2 separate regions of the Homo sapiens genome follow, and region 2 is linked to region 1. Evidence: promoter capture Hi-C in human tissues and cell types (Jung and others, 2019). All regions are on one chromosome and are shown on one strand. Each heading gives the region's core, a stretch centred on a gene start or on the middle of the fragment in contact. The rest is flanking DNA. Distances are from core to core; before and after follow the strand shown. Region 1 holds the start of ZNF611 (zinc finger protein 611). Region 2 overlaps ZNF28 (zinc finger protein 28).

The links. The method cuts DNA at HindIII sites, captures the fragments that hold promoters and counts their contacts. A contact is called where the count stands out against the background at its distance.
Region 2: a fragment that was not itself captured here is called in contact with the fragment with the promoter of ZNF611 in region 1 in 2 of the 25 tissues and cell types used here (IMR-90 fibroblasts and bladder).

The regions. Positions count from the first base shown.
Region 1 is chr19:52,730,599-52,737,533 of GRCh38, reverse strand. ZNF611 (zinc finger protein 611) reads left to right here and starts at 2,490. Exons shown (of 6, transcript NM_001161499.2): 1 at 2,490-2,533. LOC124904760 (a long non-coding RNA gene) reads right to left here and starts at 3,503. Exons shown (of 2, transcript XR_007067328.1): 1 at 3,074-3,503; 2 at 1,830-2,740. RefSeq lists enhancers at 2,075-2,204, 1,517-2,502 and a silencer at 2,385-2,454. The HindIII fragment of the contact is 18,911 bases long and covers 1-6,935 here.
Region 2 is chr19:52,795,880-52,802,634 of GRCh38, reverse strand. It overlaps ZNF28 (zinc finger protein 28), which reads left to right. Exons shown (of 4, transcript NM_006969.5): 4 at 933-5,227. The coding sequence ends at 2,947. It also overlaps a transcript of ZNF600 not described here. Among named protein-coding and RNA genes, the nearest start is that of ZNF600, 12 kb to the right of the region's middle. The HindIII fragment of the contact is 4,514 bases long and covers 1-4,442 here.

The DNA.
Region 1 (6,935 bases), core at 1,241-3,740:
CAGTGTCTGTCGTATGGTAGGAGCCTCACCAGAGAGGGCACCTGTCGCCATGTTGTAAAACTCACACTTGCCAAAAAGACATGGGTTAGAGTTTCTCCCCCTCCCTCAGGATGACGCTAGTTAGCTGACACAGATGGTCACCTCCATTACCAAGTAGAGCCAGGATGAACTATGTGTGACCAAGGGTGTTGTCAAGTCCTCTTCCTTGAGGACTGATTAGTATTTATCTTGAAAATATGTCCTTAATGGGTTGTATAGAACAGTGAAGTTTCTTTCTCTCTTTTCAATCTTTTAGCTGTTTGCCTCTATTTCCCATCACATTCTGGTCTAAGGTTTATTTATTAATAAAATGGTTTTTATTTCTTTCTCTGTTATCGTCGTGGAGATGATTTCTCATTTGGGAGGAGACTTTTTAGTTTTCAGTTATATTTTGTCAACATTTAAAAAGCGAAGCAAAGAATATTTCTGCGGCATGGCACGGTGGCTCACGCCTGTAATCTCAGCAGTTTGGGAGGCGGAGGCGGGTGGATCACGAGGTCTAGAGATCGAGACCATCCTGGCCAACATGGTGAAACACCGTCTCTACTAAAAAAAAATACAAAAAAAAAAAAACCCAAAAAAATTAGCCAGGCGTGGTAGCGGGAGCCTGTGGTCCCAGCTACTCCGGAGGCTGAGGCAGGAGAATGGCGTGAACCCGGGAGGCGGAGCTTGCAGTGAGTCGAGATTGCGCCACTGCACTCCAGCCTGGGCGACAGAGTGAGACTCCGTTTAAAAAAAAAAAAAAAAAAAAAAAGAATATTTCTGGCCGGGCGCGGTGGCTCACGCCTGTAATCCCAGCACTTTGGGAGGCCGACGCGGGCGGATCACAAGGTCAGGAGATAGAGACCGTCCTGGCTAACTCGATGAAATCCCATCTCTACTAAAAATACAAAAAATTAGCCAGGCATGTTGGCTCACGCCGTAACCCCAGCACTTTAGGAGGCTGAGGCAGGCAAATAACTTGGAGTGAGGAGTCCGATACCGGCCTGGTCAACATGGTCAACCCCGTCTCTACTAAAAATACAAAAATTAGCCTGGCATGGTGGCGCACGCCTGTAATGCCAGCTGTTCCCAAGGCTGGGGCAGGAGAATCGCTTGAACCCAGGAGGCAGAGGATGCATTTAGTCGAGATCTCGCCACTGCACTCCAGCCTGGGCAACAGAGAAATACTCTGTCTCAAAAATAATAATAATAATAATAATAATAATAATAATAATACAAGAAAGTAATAGATCTCTTCCATAAATGTGCTAGGACAACTATCTGGATATCCACATGGAAAAGAATAATGTTGGATCCCTATGTCACACAATCAAAAATTTTATTTGCGAAAGTTTTTTTTAAAAAAAAAGAGAGAGAGAGAGACAAGAAAGGGAGACCGCGGCAGTGGGCGTTATTTTGTCGCTCAGGCTGGCTTGGAACCCGAGGCTCAGGGATCCTCCCGCCGCTGCTTCCTGAGTAGCTGGGACCTCAGGCTCCCGCCCCCGCGCCTCTGCTGTCTTTAAGCAGCAGGTGGTGACCTCACTCCTTCTCGGCCTGAGCACTCCGTCCGGCATTCCAGGCGGTGGCTTCAGGGAAGTCTCTGAAGCTGAGCACAGGGCGGAGTCTCCTTCCGGAGTGAATGGACAATAGAAAGGGAGAGGATATCTATCTGTTCTGTGGGACCTCAGCATGACATGGTACATACCGCCCAGGCAGGGCTTTGCATTTCACATTCTAGTTTGTATCCCTGTTCCAGACAATTACAGTGTAGCAGGACGAGTCGCAGACAAAACCTCTCAGACACCGAGTTGTAGAAGGAAGGGCTTTATTCAGCTGGGAGCATTGGCAAGCTACTGCCTTAAAATCCAAGCTCCCCGAGTGCACAATTTCTGTCCCTTTTAAGGGCTCACAACACTAAAGATTTCAGATGAAAGGATAGTGACTGATTGAGCAAGCAAGGGATACGTGACAGGGGCTGCATGCACCGGTGATCAGGGAGAGAGAGAACAGGGCAGGAGTTTCACCGTGTTCTTCTATACAATGTCTGGAATCTATGCCTAACATCAGCTTCTAAATCATAAGTTGATTTTTAACTACTGGGTTTAGGCCAGGCGGATCCAGGCCTGGTTTCGGGCCTGGCGCGGGGCTGCCTGTCTTTGGTTTTACTTCCTGTTGTTTTTACTGACTATAAAACAATATAAAACAATGTCAGAGGGTCTCTCTCTTCTCTCAACAGGGCTTTTGTATCATGCCTCAGACTTTCTGGCGCTCTCGCCTCCAAAACCTGAAAACAGAGACGCTGGGAGCGAGGCTGAGAGACGCGCAGATCCCGCCCCGGCCCTGCCCTCTGCCGGTTCTAAAAGGCAAGGTCTCTCCGCCTCGCGCCCCGCCCCTACCTCGCCCAGGCCCCGCCTACCTCCCACTTCCCGCCCAGGCCTGGCTTTTGTCCTGCGCGCGCAGATTAACGCAAACCCGGAAGCGGATCGGGTGGAGTGTAGGTCATATCGCCGCGGTGAGTTTTGCTCTGTGTTGTATTAAGTCTGCGCTAACTAGGTTCCCAGGGCTTCTGTCCCTGGGACGTGGGGTCCCCACAGACCTGGAAATTCTCCGGCGTCTTCCTTTGCCCAGAGCAAATTGAGACATCCCCGTGAGAGCCCGAGGGTCGCTTCCTTTTGGGTTTAAAGTCGTCCTGAGGCTGGTCTCGTCCCCGGTCTTTCTGCTATAGGTCAATGTATACACTTTCTGTTGCGTAGTTTTCCTGCTGAAAACCTTGTTCTGACTCCTCGCGCCCCGCGCTTTTTAAAGTCTTCACCCGCGATGTGGATTCTTGCCCAGGGCGCCTCCCAGCCTCCCCCTCCTCAGCCCCGGGAGCGCCGCGCCGCAGCCCCAGTCCCGGGGAGGCCGAGTCCTCTGCCAGGTCCTGGGATCCTGCAGACCCCATCCTGGTCCTAAGGCGCCGTCGCGCCCCCCCCCCCCGCCCCGCACCTTCCTCCTCATGCCGGGGCCTGCTGCTCCCCAGGTCTCCCCTCCGCAGTCACCGCTTTCATTGAACCTGCACTGGGGAGGTCCCAGGGGCCTGTCCTGCGGCACGGGGTATTCTTGCCTGCGGAGCTCCAGGGCGTGGAAAATGCGCTCCTCCGGGATGCAGGCGTCTTACTCCAAACCGTGTTGCGATTGTGTGGGCCAAAGGAATCAGGAGACAGAGAGCAGTAGAAAACCTGAGGCAGAGAAAAGAAGAATAAGAAAGGCCCATAACAGATGGCAAAATAGAGGATTGGTGAGGGATATGCCAAGAGATGGCAGAAGTGAAAAAAAAAAAAAAAAACCTAAGAAAGCAGGAGGAGAAAAGCAACCGGAGAAATGTAGAGAAAGGCTAGATAGATGTACAGAGAGATGAAGGATCACAAGGTAGGGGGAGTGGCAGCAAAGAGGGAGACTCATCAGAGTGAGGGAGAGAGGGAAGGATTTGGAGCCAGGGCAGACAGAGCAGAGTGGTGCTTGTGTCAAGGAGAACAGAGGGAGAACCACAGCAGAGAGGACAGCTGGGATCTGGGGAGACACAGAGTGGGGACAAGGGAGTATATCGGGGAAGATGGAATTTAACAGGGAGAGCAGAGGAGGCGCAGAGATGGGAGAAGAGGCAGAAATAGATGGAGATTGAGGACGATTGAAAGATTGGGGAGAAGGAGCAATAAGAGGTTAAATAAGTTGTGAGGATGGAGGAGAAGAGGTGGAAGAGAAGGAATAAAGGGAAGAAGGGGATGAATAGCAGGAGAGGAGAGGGGTACAAAATGAAGAGCAGAATCCCAGGGAAAAAGAAAAGAAAACAAGAGCTAGAGAGAGAAGGGGAGAATGAGAGATATGTACAGAATTAGGGAGGGAAGCACAGTAATGAAGAAAGAGGGTCTGGACACAGTGGCTCACGCCTGTAGTCTGTAGTCTCCACACTTTAGGAGACTGAGGCAAGGGGATTGCTTGAGTCCAGGAGTTCGAGACCAGCTTGGGCAACATAGTGAGACCTCCCCCCCGCCAAAAAAGTAAGTAAATAACCGGGCATAATGGTGTGCACCTGTACTCCCAGCTGCTCTGGTGGCCAAGCTGGGAGGATGACTTGAGCCCAGGAGGTCCAGGCTGCAGTGAGCTGAGATCATGTGACTACACTGCAGCCTGGTCGTCAGAGCGAGACCTTGTCTCCAAACAAAAAAAAAGGGGCGAGAGACTGGGTTCAGATGAGTGGGTGAGTTCATTGGATATGATTGGTTGTGACATGTTGAGTTCTGTATATATAATCTAATAACTAAAAACTTGTTTAAATTACACAGATGAGATTGAGAATTTTAAAATTCGTATCTATAAGACATGTACATTCTATAAATCTTGGCATCAGAGGTTATGTTCCACTTGGAATCCCTATTTGCCAGAGGGCAGTCACTTATTCAGTTGTGAATCACTGTCTCCCCTTTTCCTAGGATGGGGTAGGACGTGGGTCAGTGAAGTGGGAAAATAGTCACTGTCTGTTGTTACAAAATACATTTAATTAATTAATTAATTAATATTTTGAGACAGGGTCTGACTCTATCACCCAGGCTGGTGTGCAGTGGCGTGATCTCCTCTAACTGCAGCCTCGACCTCTTAAGTTCAAGCCATCCTCCTTCCTCAGCCTTCTGAGTAGCTGAGACCAGAGGCATGAGCCACCAAGCCCGGCTAGTTTTTGTATTTTTTTTTTTTTTTGTAGAAACGGAGTTTCACTATGTTTCCTAGGCTGGTCTCAAAATCCTGGGCTCAAAGGATCCTCCTGCCTTGGCCTCCCAAATTACTGGGATTACGGGTGGGATTACAGGGAGGAGCCACCGTGTCTGGCCTACTTAGCCCTCAATACATTGAGTTATTCTGAATAACTCAATAACTCAATACTGTGAGTTATTCAGAATAACTCAATACTGTGAGTTATTCTGAATAACTCAATACTGTGAGTTATTCTGAATAACTCAATACTGTGAGTTATTCTGAATAACTCAATACTGTGAGTTATTCTGAATAACTCAATACTGTGAGTTATTCTGAATAACTCAATACTGTGAGTTATTCAGAATAACTCAATACTGTGAGTTATTCAGAATAACTCAATACTGTGAGTTATTCAGAATAACTCAATACTGTGAGTTATTCAGAATAACTCAATACTGTGAGTTATTCAGAATAACTCAATACTGTGAGTTATTCTGTTTTCTTTTTTCTTTTTTGAGATGGAGTTTTGCTCTGTCACCCAGGCTGGAGTGCAGTGGCACGATCTCAGCTCACTGCAAGCTCCGCCTCCCGGGTTCACGCCATTCTCCTGCCTCAGCCTCCGGAGTAGCTGGGAGTACAGGCTCCTGTCACCACTACCAGCTAATTTTTTGTATTATTAGTAGAGACAGGATTTCACCGTGTTAGCCAGGATGGTCTCAATCTCCTGACCTCGTGATCCGCCCGCCTCAGCCTCCCAAAGTGCTGGGATTACAGGCGTGAGCCACCCGCCCGGCCATTTTTTTTTCTTTTTTTGAGAGGGAATTTTGCTCTTGTTGCCAAGGCTGGAGTGCGATGGCATGATCTCAGCTCACCACAACCTTGGCTTCCTAGCATCAAGCGATTCTACTGCCTCAGCCTCCTGAATAGCTGGGATTACAGGCATGCACCACCACGCTCGGCTAATTTTGTGTTTTTAGTAGAGACAGGGTTTCTTCATGTTGATCCAGGCTGGTCTCTAACTCCCGACCTGAGGTGATCCACCTGCCTCGGCCTCCCAAAGTGCTGGGATTACGGGCGTAAGCCACCACGCCTAGCCCATAGTAGTTTTCAAAAGGGACATCAGGGCACGGTGGCTCAAGCCTGTAATCCCAGCACTTTGGGAAGCCAAGGTGGGTGGATCACGAGGTCAGGAGTTCGATACCAGCCTGGCCAACAGAGTGAAACCCCATCTCTACAAAAAAAAAAATACAAAAATTAGCCGGTAGTGATGGCAGACTCCTGTAATCCCACCTACTCAGGAGGCAGAGGTTTGTTTGAACCCGGGAGGCAGACGTTGCAGTGAGCCGAGATTGCGCCACTGCATGCCAGCCTGGGCAACAGAGCTAGAGTCCGTCTGAAAAAAAAATAAAGAAAAAGAAAGGAACATCAAAGCCAGGCGTGGTGGCTCATGCCTGTAATCCTAGCACTTTGGGAGCAAATCACTTAAGGTCAGGAGTTTGAGACCAGCCTGGCCTACATGATGAAACCCTGTATCTACCAAAAATACAAAAATTAGCTGAGCGTGGTGGCACACGCCTCTAATTTCAGCTACTCTGGAGGCTGAGGCAGGAGAATTATTTGGACCCAGCTGGGAGGCAGAGGTTGCAGTGAGCCACGATCGCACCACGGCACTCCAGCCTGGGTGACAGAGTGAGACTCTGTCTCCCCCACCCCCAAAAAAAAATAGCCAGGGGTGGTGGCATGCATCTGTAGTCCCATCTACTTGGGAGGCTGAGGCAGGAGAATCATGCCACTACACTCCAGCCTGAGTGATAGAGCGTGACTTGGTCTCAAAAAACAAACAAACAAAAAGAAATAACAATCAGCTCTTTAATGTCTCTCTTTATAAAAGCAGTAGTCTTGGCTGTGTGCGGGGGCTCACACTTGTAATCCCAGCACTTTGGAAGGCTGATGCGGGTGAATCACCTGAGGTAGGTGGTTCGAGACCAGCCTGACCAAAATAGAGAAACCCCGTCTCTACTAAAAATACAAAATTAGCTGGGTGTGATGGTGCATGCCTGTAATCCCAGCTACTCAGGAGGCTGAGGCAGGAGAATTGCTTGAACCCAGGAGGCAAAGTTTGCGGTGAGCCAAGATCGTGACATTGCACTCCAGCCTGGGCAACAAGAGGGAAACTCCGTCTCAAA
Region 2 (6,755 bases), core at 936-3,435, 65 kb before region 1:
TGCGATCTCAACTCACCACAATCTTTGCCTCCCAAGTTCAAGCGATTATCCTGACTCAGCCTCCCAAGTAGCTGGGATTACAGGCACCTGTGACCATGCCAGCTACTTTTTGTATTTTCAGTACAGATGGGGTTTTGCCACATTGGCCAGGCTGGTCAAACTCCTGACGTGAGGTGATCTGCCTGCCTTGCCCTCTAGAAGTACTGGGATTACAGGCATGAGCCACCATGCCCTGCCTTTTTTTGTTGTTTGTTTTTTTGTTTTTTTGAGATGGAGGCTCATTTTGTCACCTGGGCTGGAGTGCAGTGGTGTAATATTGGCTTACAGCAACCTTTGCCTTTGGCTTAACGCAATTCTTGTGACACAGCCTTCAGAGTAGCTGTGAGTACAGGCACGGGCCACCATACCTGGCTAATTTTTATAATCTTTTGTTATCTTGTCAGTGCTATGATTGTTTGACAATACAGAATTTCCATTGATTTTGGTTATCCTTACAACAGCTTGTTTTGGATTATTTACCAATATAGTATATTGTGTGGTTCTTTAGCATTTATTTGTATACACTAAATACGCTGTAAATATGAAGAATATATATTTTTCTTTTTTTGATGTGATAGTGATGTGTTTTTTGCAAAGTGTGATACACTTTAGGGTCACAGTGGAAAAACACTCCTTACTTTAGGCTCACACATGTTTGTGCCCTGTCAGTGTTTTGTCATGATATAGGAAATAGACTTTCATGGAATTGATTTGAAAGACATATAATCGCCCTTTATTTATTAAAGAATCTTACTCCTTTTGTGTTCTTAAACTTTGAAGATCATGTTTGGGAAGTTTAAAATAAGTATTGTTTTTTGTGTCATATTTACACATTTCAGTATTATACACCATCTGTACTTCATTGGAAACCTATTGGTGTTTATATTTTGTAGATATCTCTTCCAAATGCATGATGAAGACATTCTTCTCAACAGGGCAAGGCAATACAGAAGCGTTCCACACAGGGACATTGCAAAGACAAGCAAGTCATCACATTGGAGATTTTTGCTTCCAGAAAATTGAGAAAGACATTCATGGCTTCCAGTTTCAGTGGAAAGAAGATGAAACAAATGACCATGCAGCACCCATGACAGAAATCAAAGAGTTGACTGGTAGTACAGGCCAACATGATCAAAGGCATGCTGGAAACAAGCATATTAAAGATCAGCTTGGATTAAGCTTTCATTCGCATCTGCCTGAACTGCACATATTTCAGCCTGAAGGGAAAATTGGTAATCAAGTTGAGAAGTCTATCAACAATGCTTCCTCAGTTTCAACATCCCAAAGAATTTGTTGTAGGCCCAAAACCCATATTTCTAATAAGTATGGAAATAATTCCCTCCATTCTTCATTACTCACACAAAAACGGAATGTACACATGAGAGAAAAATCTTTCCAATGTATTGAGAGTGGCAAATCCTTTAATTGTAGCTCACTTTTAAAAAAACATCAGATAACCCACTTAGAAGAGAAACAATGTAAATGTGATGTATATGGCAAGGTATTTAATCAGAAGCGATACCTTGCATGCCATCGTAGATCTCACATTGATGAGAAACCTTACAAGTGTAATGAGTGTGGCAAGATCTTTGGTCACAATACATCCCTCTTCCTTCACAAGGCGCTTCATACTGCAGACAAACCTTATGAATGTGAAGAATGTGACAAAGTTTTCAGTCGCAAATCACACCTTGAAACACATAAGATAATTTATACTGGAGGGAAACCATACAAATGTAAGGTTTGTGACAAAGCTTTCACATGTAATTCATACCTAGCAAAACATACTATAATTCACACTGGAGAGAAACCTTACAAGTGTAATGAATGTGGCAAGGTTTTTAATCGACTGTCAACCCTTGCACGCCATCGTAGGCTTCATACTGGAGAGAAACCTTATGAATGTGAAGAATGTGAAAAAGTTTTCAGTCGCAAATCACATCTTGAAAGACATAAGAGGATTCATACTGGAGAGAAACCATACAAATGTAAGGTTTGTGACAAGGCTTTTGCATATAATTCATACCTGGCAAAACATAGTATAATTCACACTGGAGAGAAGCCTTACAAGTGTAATGAATGTGGCAAGGTTTTTAATCAACAATCAACTCTTGCACGCCATCATAGACTTCATACTGCAGAGAAACCATACAAATGTGAAGAATGTGACAAAGTTTTCAGGTGCAAATCACACCTTGAAAGACATAGGAGGATTCATACTGGAGAGAAACCATACAAATGTAAGGTTTGTGACAAGGCTTTCCGGAGTGATTCATGCCTTACAGAACATCAGAGAGTTCATACTGGAGAGAAACCATACATGTGTAATGAATGTGGCAAGGTTTTTAGTACAAAAGCAAACCTTGCATGTCATCATAAACTTCATACTGCAGAGAAACCGTACAAATGTGAAGAATGTGAGAAAGTTTTCAGTCGCAAATCACACATGGAAAGACATAGGAGGATTCATACTGGAGAGAAACCGTACAAATGTAAGGTTTGTGACAAGGCTTTCCGGAGGGATTCACACCTGGCACAACATCAGAGAGTTCATACTGGAGAGAAACCTTACAAGTGTAATGAGTGTGGCAAGACCTTCCGTCAGACATCATCGCTTATAATCCATCGTAGGCTTCATACTGGAGAGAAACCTTACAAGTGTAATGAGTGTGGCAAGACCTTCAGTCAGATGTCATCCCTCGTATACCATCATAGGCTTCATAGTGGAGAGAAACCTTACAAGTGTAATGAATGTGGCAAGGTTTTTAATCAACAAGCACACCTTGCACAGCATCAGAGAGTTCATACTGGAGAGAAACCTTACAAGTGTAATGAGTGTGGCAAGACCTTCAGTCAGATGTCAAACCTTGTATACCATCATAGACTTCATAGTGGAGAGAAACCTTGAAAGTGTAATGAGTGTGGCAAGACCTTCAGTCAGATGTCAAACCTTGTATACCATCATAGACTTCATAGTGGAGAGAAACCTTAAAAGTGTAATGAGTGTGGCAACACCTTCCATCACAATTCAACCCTTGTAAGTCACAAAGCCATTCATACTGGAGAGAAACTTTACAAGTGTAATGAATGTGGCAAGGTTTTTAATCAAAAAACAACCCTTGCACGTCATCATAGAATTCATACTGCAGAGAAACTTTACAAATAGGAAGAATGTGACAAAGTTTTCGGTTGCAAATCAAACCTTGAAACACATAAGAAAATGCATGCTGAAGAGAAACCACACAGATGTAAGGTTTATGACAAGATTTTTGAATATAATTCATACCTGGCAAAACATATTAGAATTCAAACTGGAGAGAAACCTTACAAATGTGATGAGTGTGGCAACACCTTTGGTCAAAATTCATACCTTGTAATTCAAAAGGCAATTCGTATTGGAGAGAAACCCTACAAGTGTAATGAATGTGGCATAGTTTTTAATCAACAGTCACACCTTGCAAGTCATCATAGTCTTCATACTGCAGAGAAATCTTACAAATGTGAAGACTGTGACAAAGTTGTCAGTCACAAATCACAGCTTGAAAGACAGGAGAATTCATACTGGAGAAAAAACATACAAATGTAAGGTTTGTAACAAGGCTTTTGGGAGTGATTCACACCTGGCACACCATACTAGAATTCACACTGGAGAGAAACCTTACAAGTGCAATGAGTGTGGCAAAGCCTTTAGTGGGCAGTCACCACTTATTCACCATCAAGCAATCCATAGTATAGGGAAACTTGACTAATATAATGATTGTCACAAAGTTTTCAGTAATGCTACAACCATTGCAAATCATTGGAGAATCCATAATGAGAGATCTTACAAGTGTAATAAATGTGACAGATTTTTCAGATATCGTTCATATATTGCTATTCATCATCGAACTCATGCTGGAGAGAAACCTTATAAATGTCATGATTGTGGCAAGGTCTTCAGTCAAGTTTCATCCTATGCAAAACATAGGAGGATTCATACAGGAGAGAAACTCACAAGTGTGATGATTGTGGCAAAGCGTTTACTTCACATTCACACCTCAATAGACATCAGAGAATCCATGCTGGACAGAAATCTTACAAATGTCATCAGTGTGGTAAGGTCTTCAGTCCGAGATCACTCCTTGCAGACCATCAGACAATTCCTTTTGGAGACAGTTGTTTCAAATGCCATTAGTATAGCAAGCCATCAAGCATTAATTGACATTACAGTTAAATGAGCACTGACCTGAGTTTGAGTTGACTTAACATTGAGTTTAAGCATTAATTGACATTAAACTGTTTATGTTAAGAGGACTGGGCTGGGCACTGTGGCTCACGCCTGCAATGCCAGCACTTTGAGAGGCCAAGACTGGTAGGTCACTGGAGGTTAAGAGTTTGAGAACAGCCTGGCCAACAGACGGGAGCCACTTTTCCCAGCCTGTGTTTTCATTTCTATTCTTTCTTTCTTTTTTCTTTTTTTTGTTTTTGTTTTTGAGATGGAGTCTCTTGCTCTGTCATCCAGGTTGGAGTGCAGTGGCATGATCTTGACTCACTACAACCTCCGCCTCCCAGGTTCAAGCGATCCTCCTGCCTCAGTCTCCTGACTAGCTGGGACTACAGGTGCATGCCACCACACCTGGATAATTTTTTGTATTTTTAGTAGAGACTGGGTTTCGCTGTGTTAGCCTGGATGGTCTCGATTTTCTGATCTTATGATTCACCCACCTCTACCTCCCGAAGTGCTGAGATTATGGGCGTGAGCCACCGTGACTGGCCTGTTTTTTGTTTCTTTAACAAAAAGTTATGGGGATTTCTATGAGTATTGTGTTGAATCTAAATCACATTCGGTTATATAATCATTGAGCAATACTAATTTTTCCAATCAGTATGGATTGTATGTGTATTTATATGTTTTTAATCATTTTGATCAATGTTTGTAGATTTCAAGGTACAAACTTCTCACCTTTATATGTTTATTCCTAAATATTTCTTACTTTAAGCTCTTTAGCAAATGGAAGTGGTTTTTAATTTTATTTTAAAATTATTTAATGTTAATGTATGGAAATTCAACTAATTTTTGGTGCTATTATTCTATTCTGCAAATACACTGAATATGTTTATTAGTTCCAGTTGTATTTTGGTTGACTGTGATTTTCTTCACAGATCATGTCATCTACAAACAAATAAAATTTGACTTCTTTCTTTCTGATTTGGATGAGTTCGATTTCTATTGCTATTTCATTGTTCTGGCTGGGACAGCCAGCATTGATTGAATAGAAAGGGTGAGAGCATTCTTGCATCATGTGAGATCCTACAGGAAAAGCATTCCATTTTCCCTGATTGTTTATTTCCACTGTGGTCGTTTCATGGATTGTCTTTGTACTGTTGAGGTAAATTTCCTTCTCTAACTATTTTTGGTAGGATTTCCATGATGATGTTGAATTTTGTGAAATGCTTTTTCTACATGTATTGAGATGATGTGGTTTTCATCTTTCATTATGTTCAAGTGGTATATCACATTGATTTGCTTGAATATGTTGAACCATCCTTGTATCTCAGAAATAAGTGGCACTTGCATATCTACAATCCTTTTTATATCCTCTTGAATACAGTTTGCTAGTACAAGGGGTCTTCACGAAGTTCATGAAAAAATACATGTTATGAGAAAATTGTGCATGATGTCACATTTTTTGCACCAAAATAAAATGGTACAAATCTGTTATAACATGTCTGAACAGGGTCTAGTTTGAGGCACTCAGAAGGGTAAAATCAGTTTGAAAAGAGACTCAATCAAAGCAATGTAAATTCTGCTAAAATTGAAACAAGAAGAAATATCAAATTTGCGATGAGACCAGATGCAGTGGCTCAGGCCTGTAATACCAGCACTTTCAGAGGTTGAGACAGCTGGGTCATGTGAGCCCCGGTATTCAAGACCAGCCTGGACAGAATGGTGAAACCCCTGTCTCCACAAAAAATACAAAAATTAGCTGGGCATGGTGGCACATGTCTGCTGGTTCAGCTTCTGTGGAGACTGCATTGGGAGGATGGCTTGAGCCTGGGAGGTAGAGGCTGCAGGGAGCCGTGATCATGCCACTGTACTCCAGTCTAAGACGTAAGTGACTATTCCTCCTCCCGCTCTCACATATAAATTGTGTATTTAGTGAAAGGCTGATCAAAGACTCAAAGAATGTGATCATTTGTTATCTACCTGTGACCCGGAAGCCCCCCAATTCCAGTTATTCCACCTTTCCAGACCGGAACAATGTATATGTTTTATGTATTGATTGCTGTCTCGTGTCCATAAAATGTGTGAAAGTAAACTGCAGCCTCAACACCTTGGGCACACATCGTCAGGACCTCCTGAGGTTCGTGTTAATTGGCCTTAGATTCCCCCTGTCCCCAGACCCAGGACGCATGTGTTTCCTCTTTTGTCATTTTTATTGGAGATGGGTCTCATTCTGTTGCCCAGGCATGAAAGCAGTGACAGCATCAGAGCTCACTGCAGCTTCAACCTCCTGGGTTCAAGGGATCCTCCCATTTCAGCCTCCAAAGTCACTGGGACCACAGCCATGCGCCATTGCACCCGGCAAATTTTTGTGTTCCTAGTAGAGATGGGCTTTCACCATGTTGCCCAAGCTGGTCTCGAACTCCAGGGCTGAGGCGATCCAGCTGCATCGGCCTCCCAAAGTGCTGGGATTACAGTCATGAGCCACCAAGCCCGGCTTGTTTCTTAATTA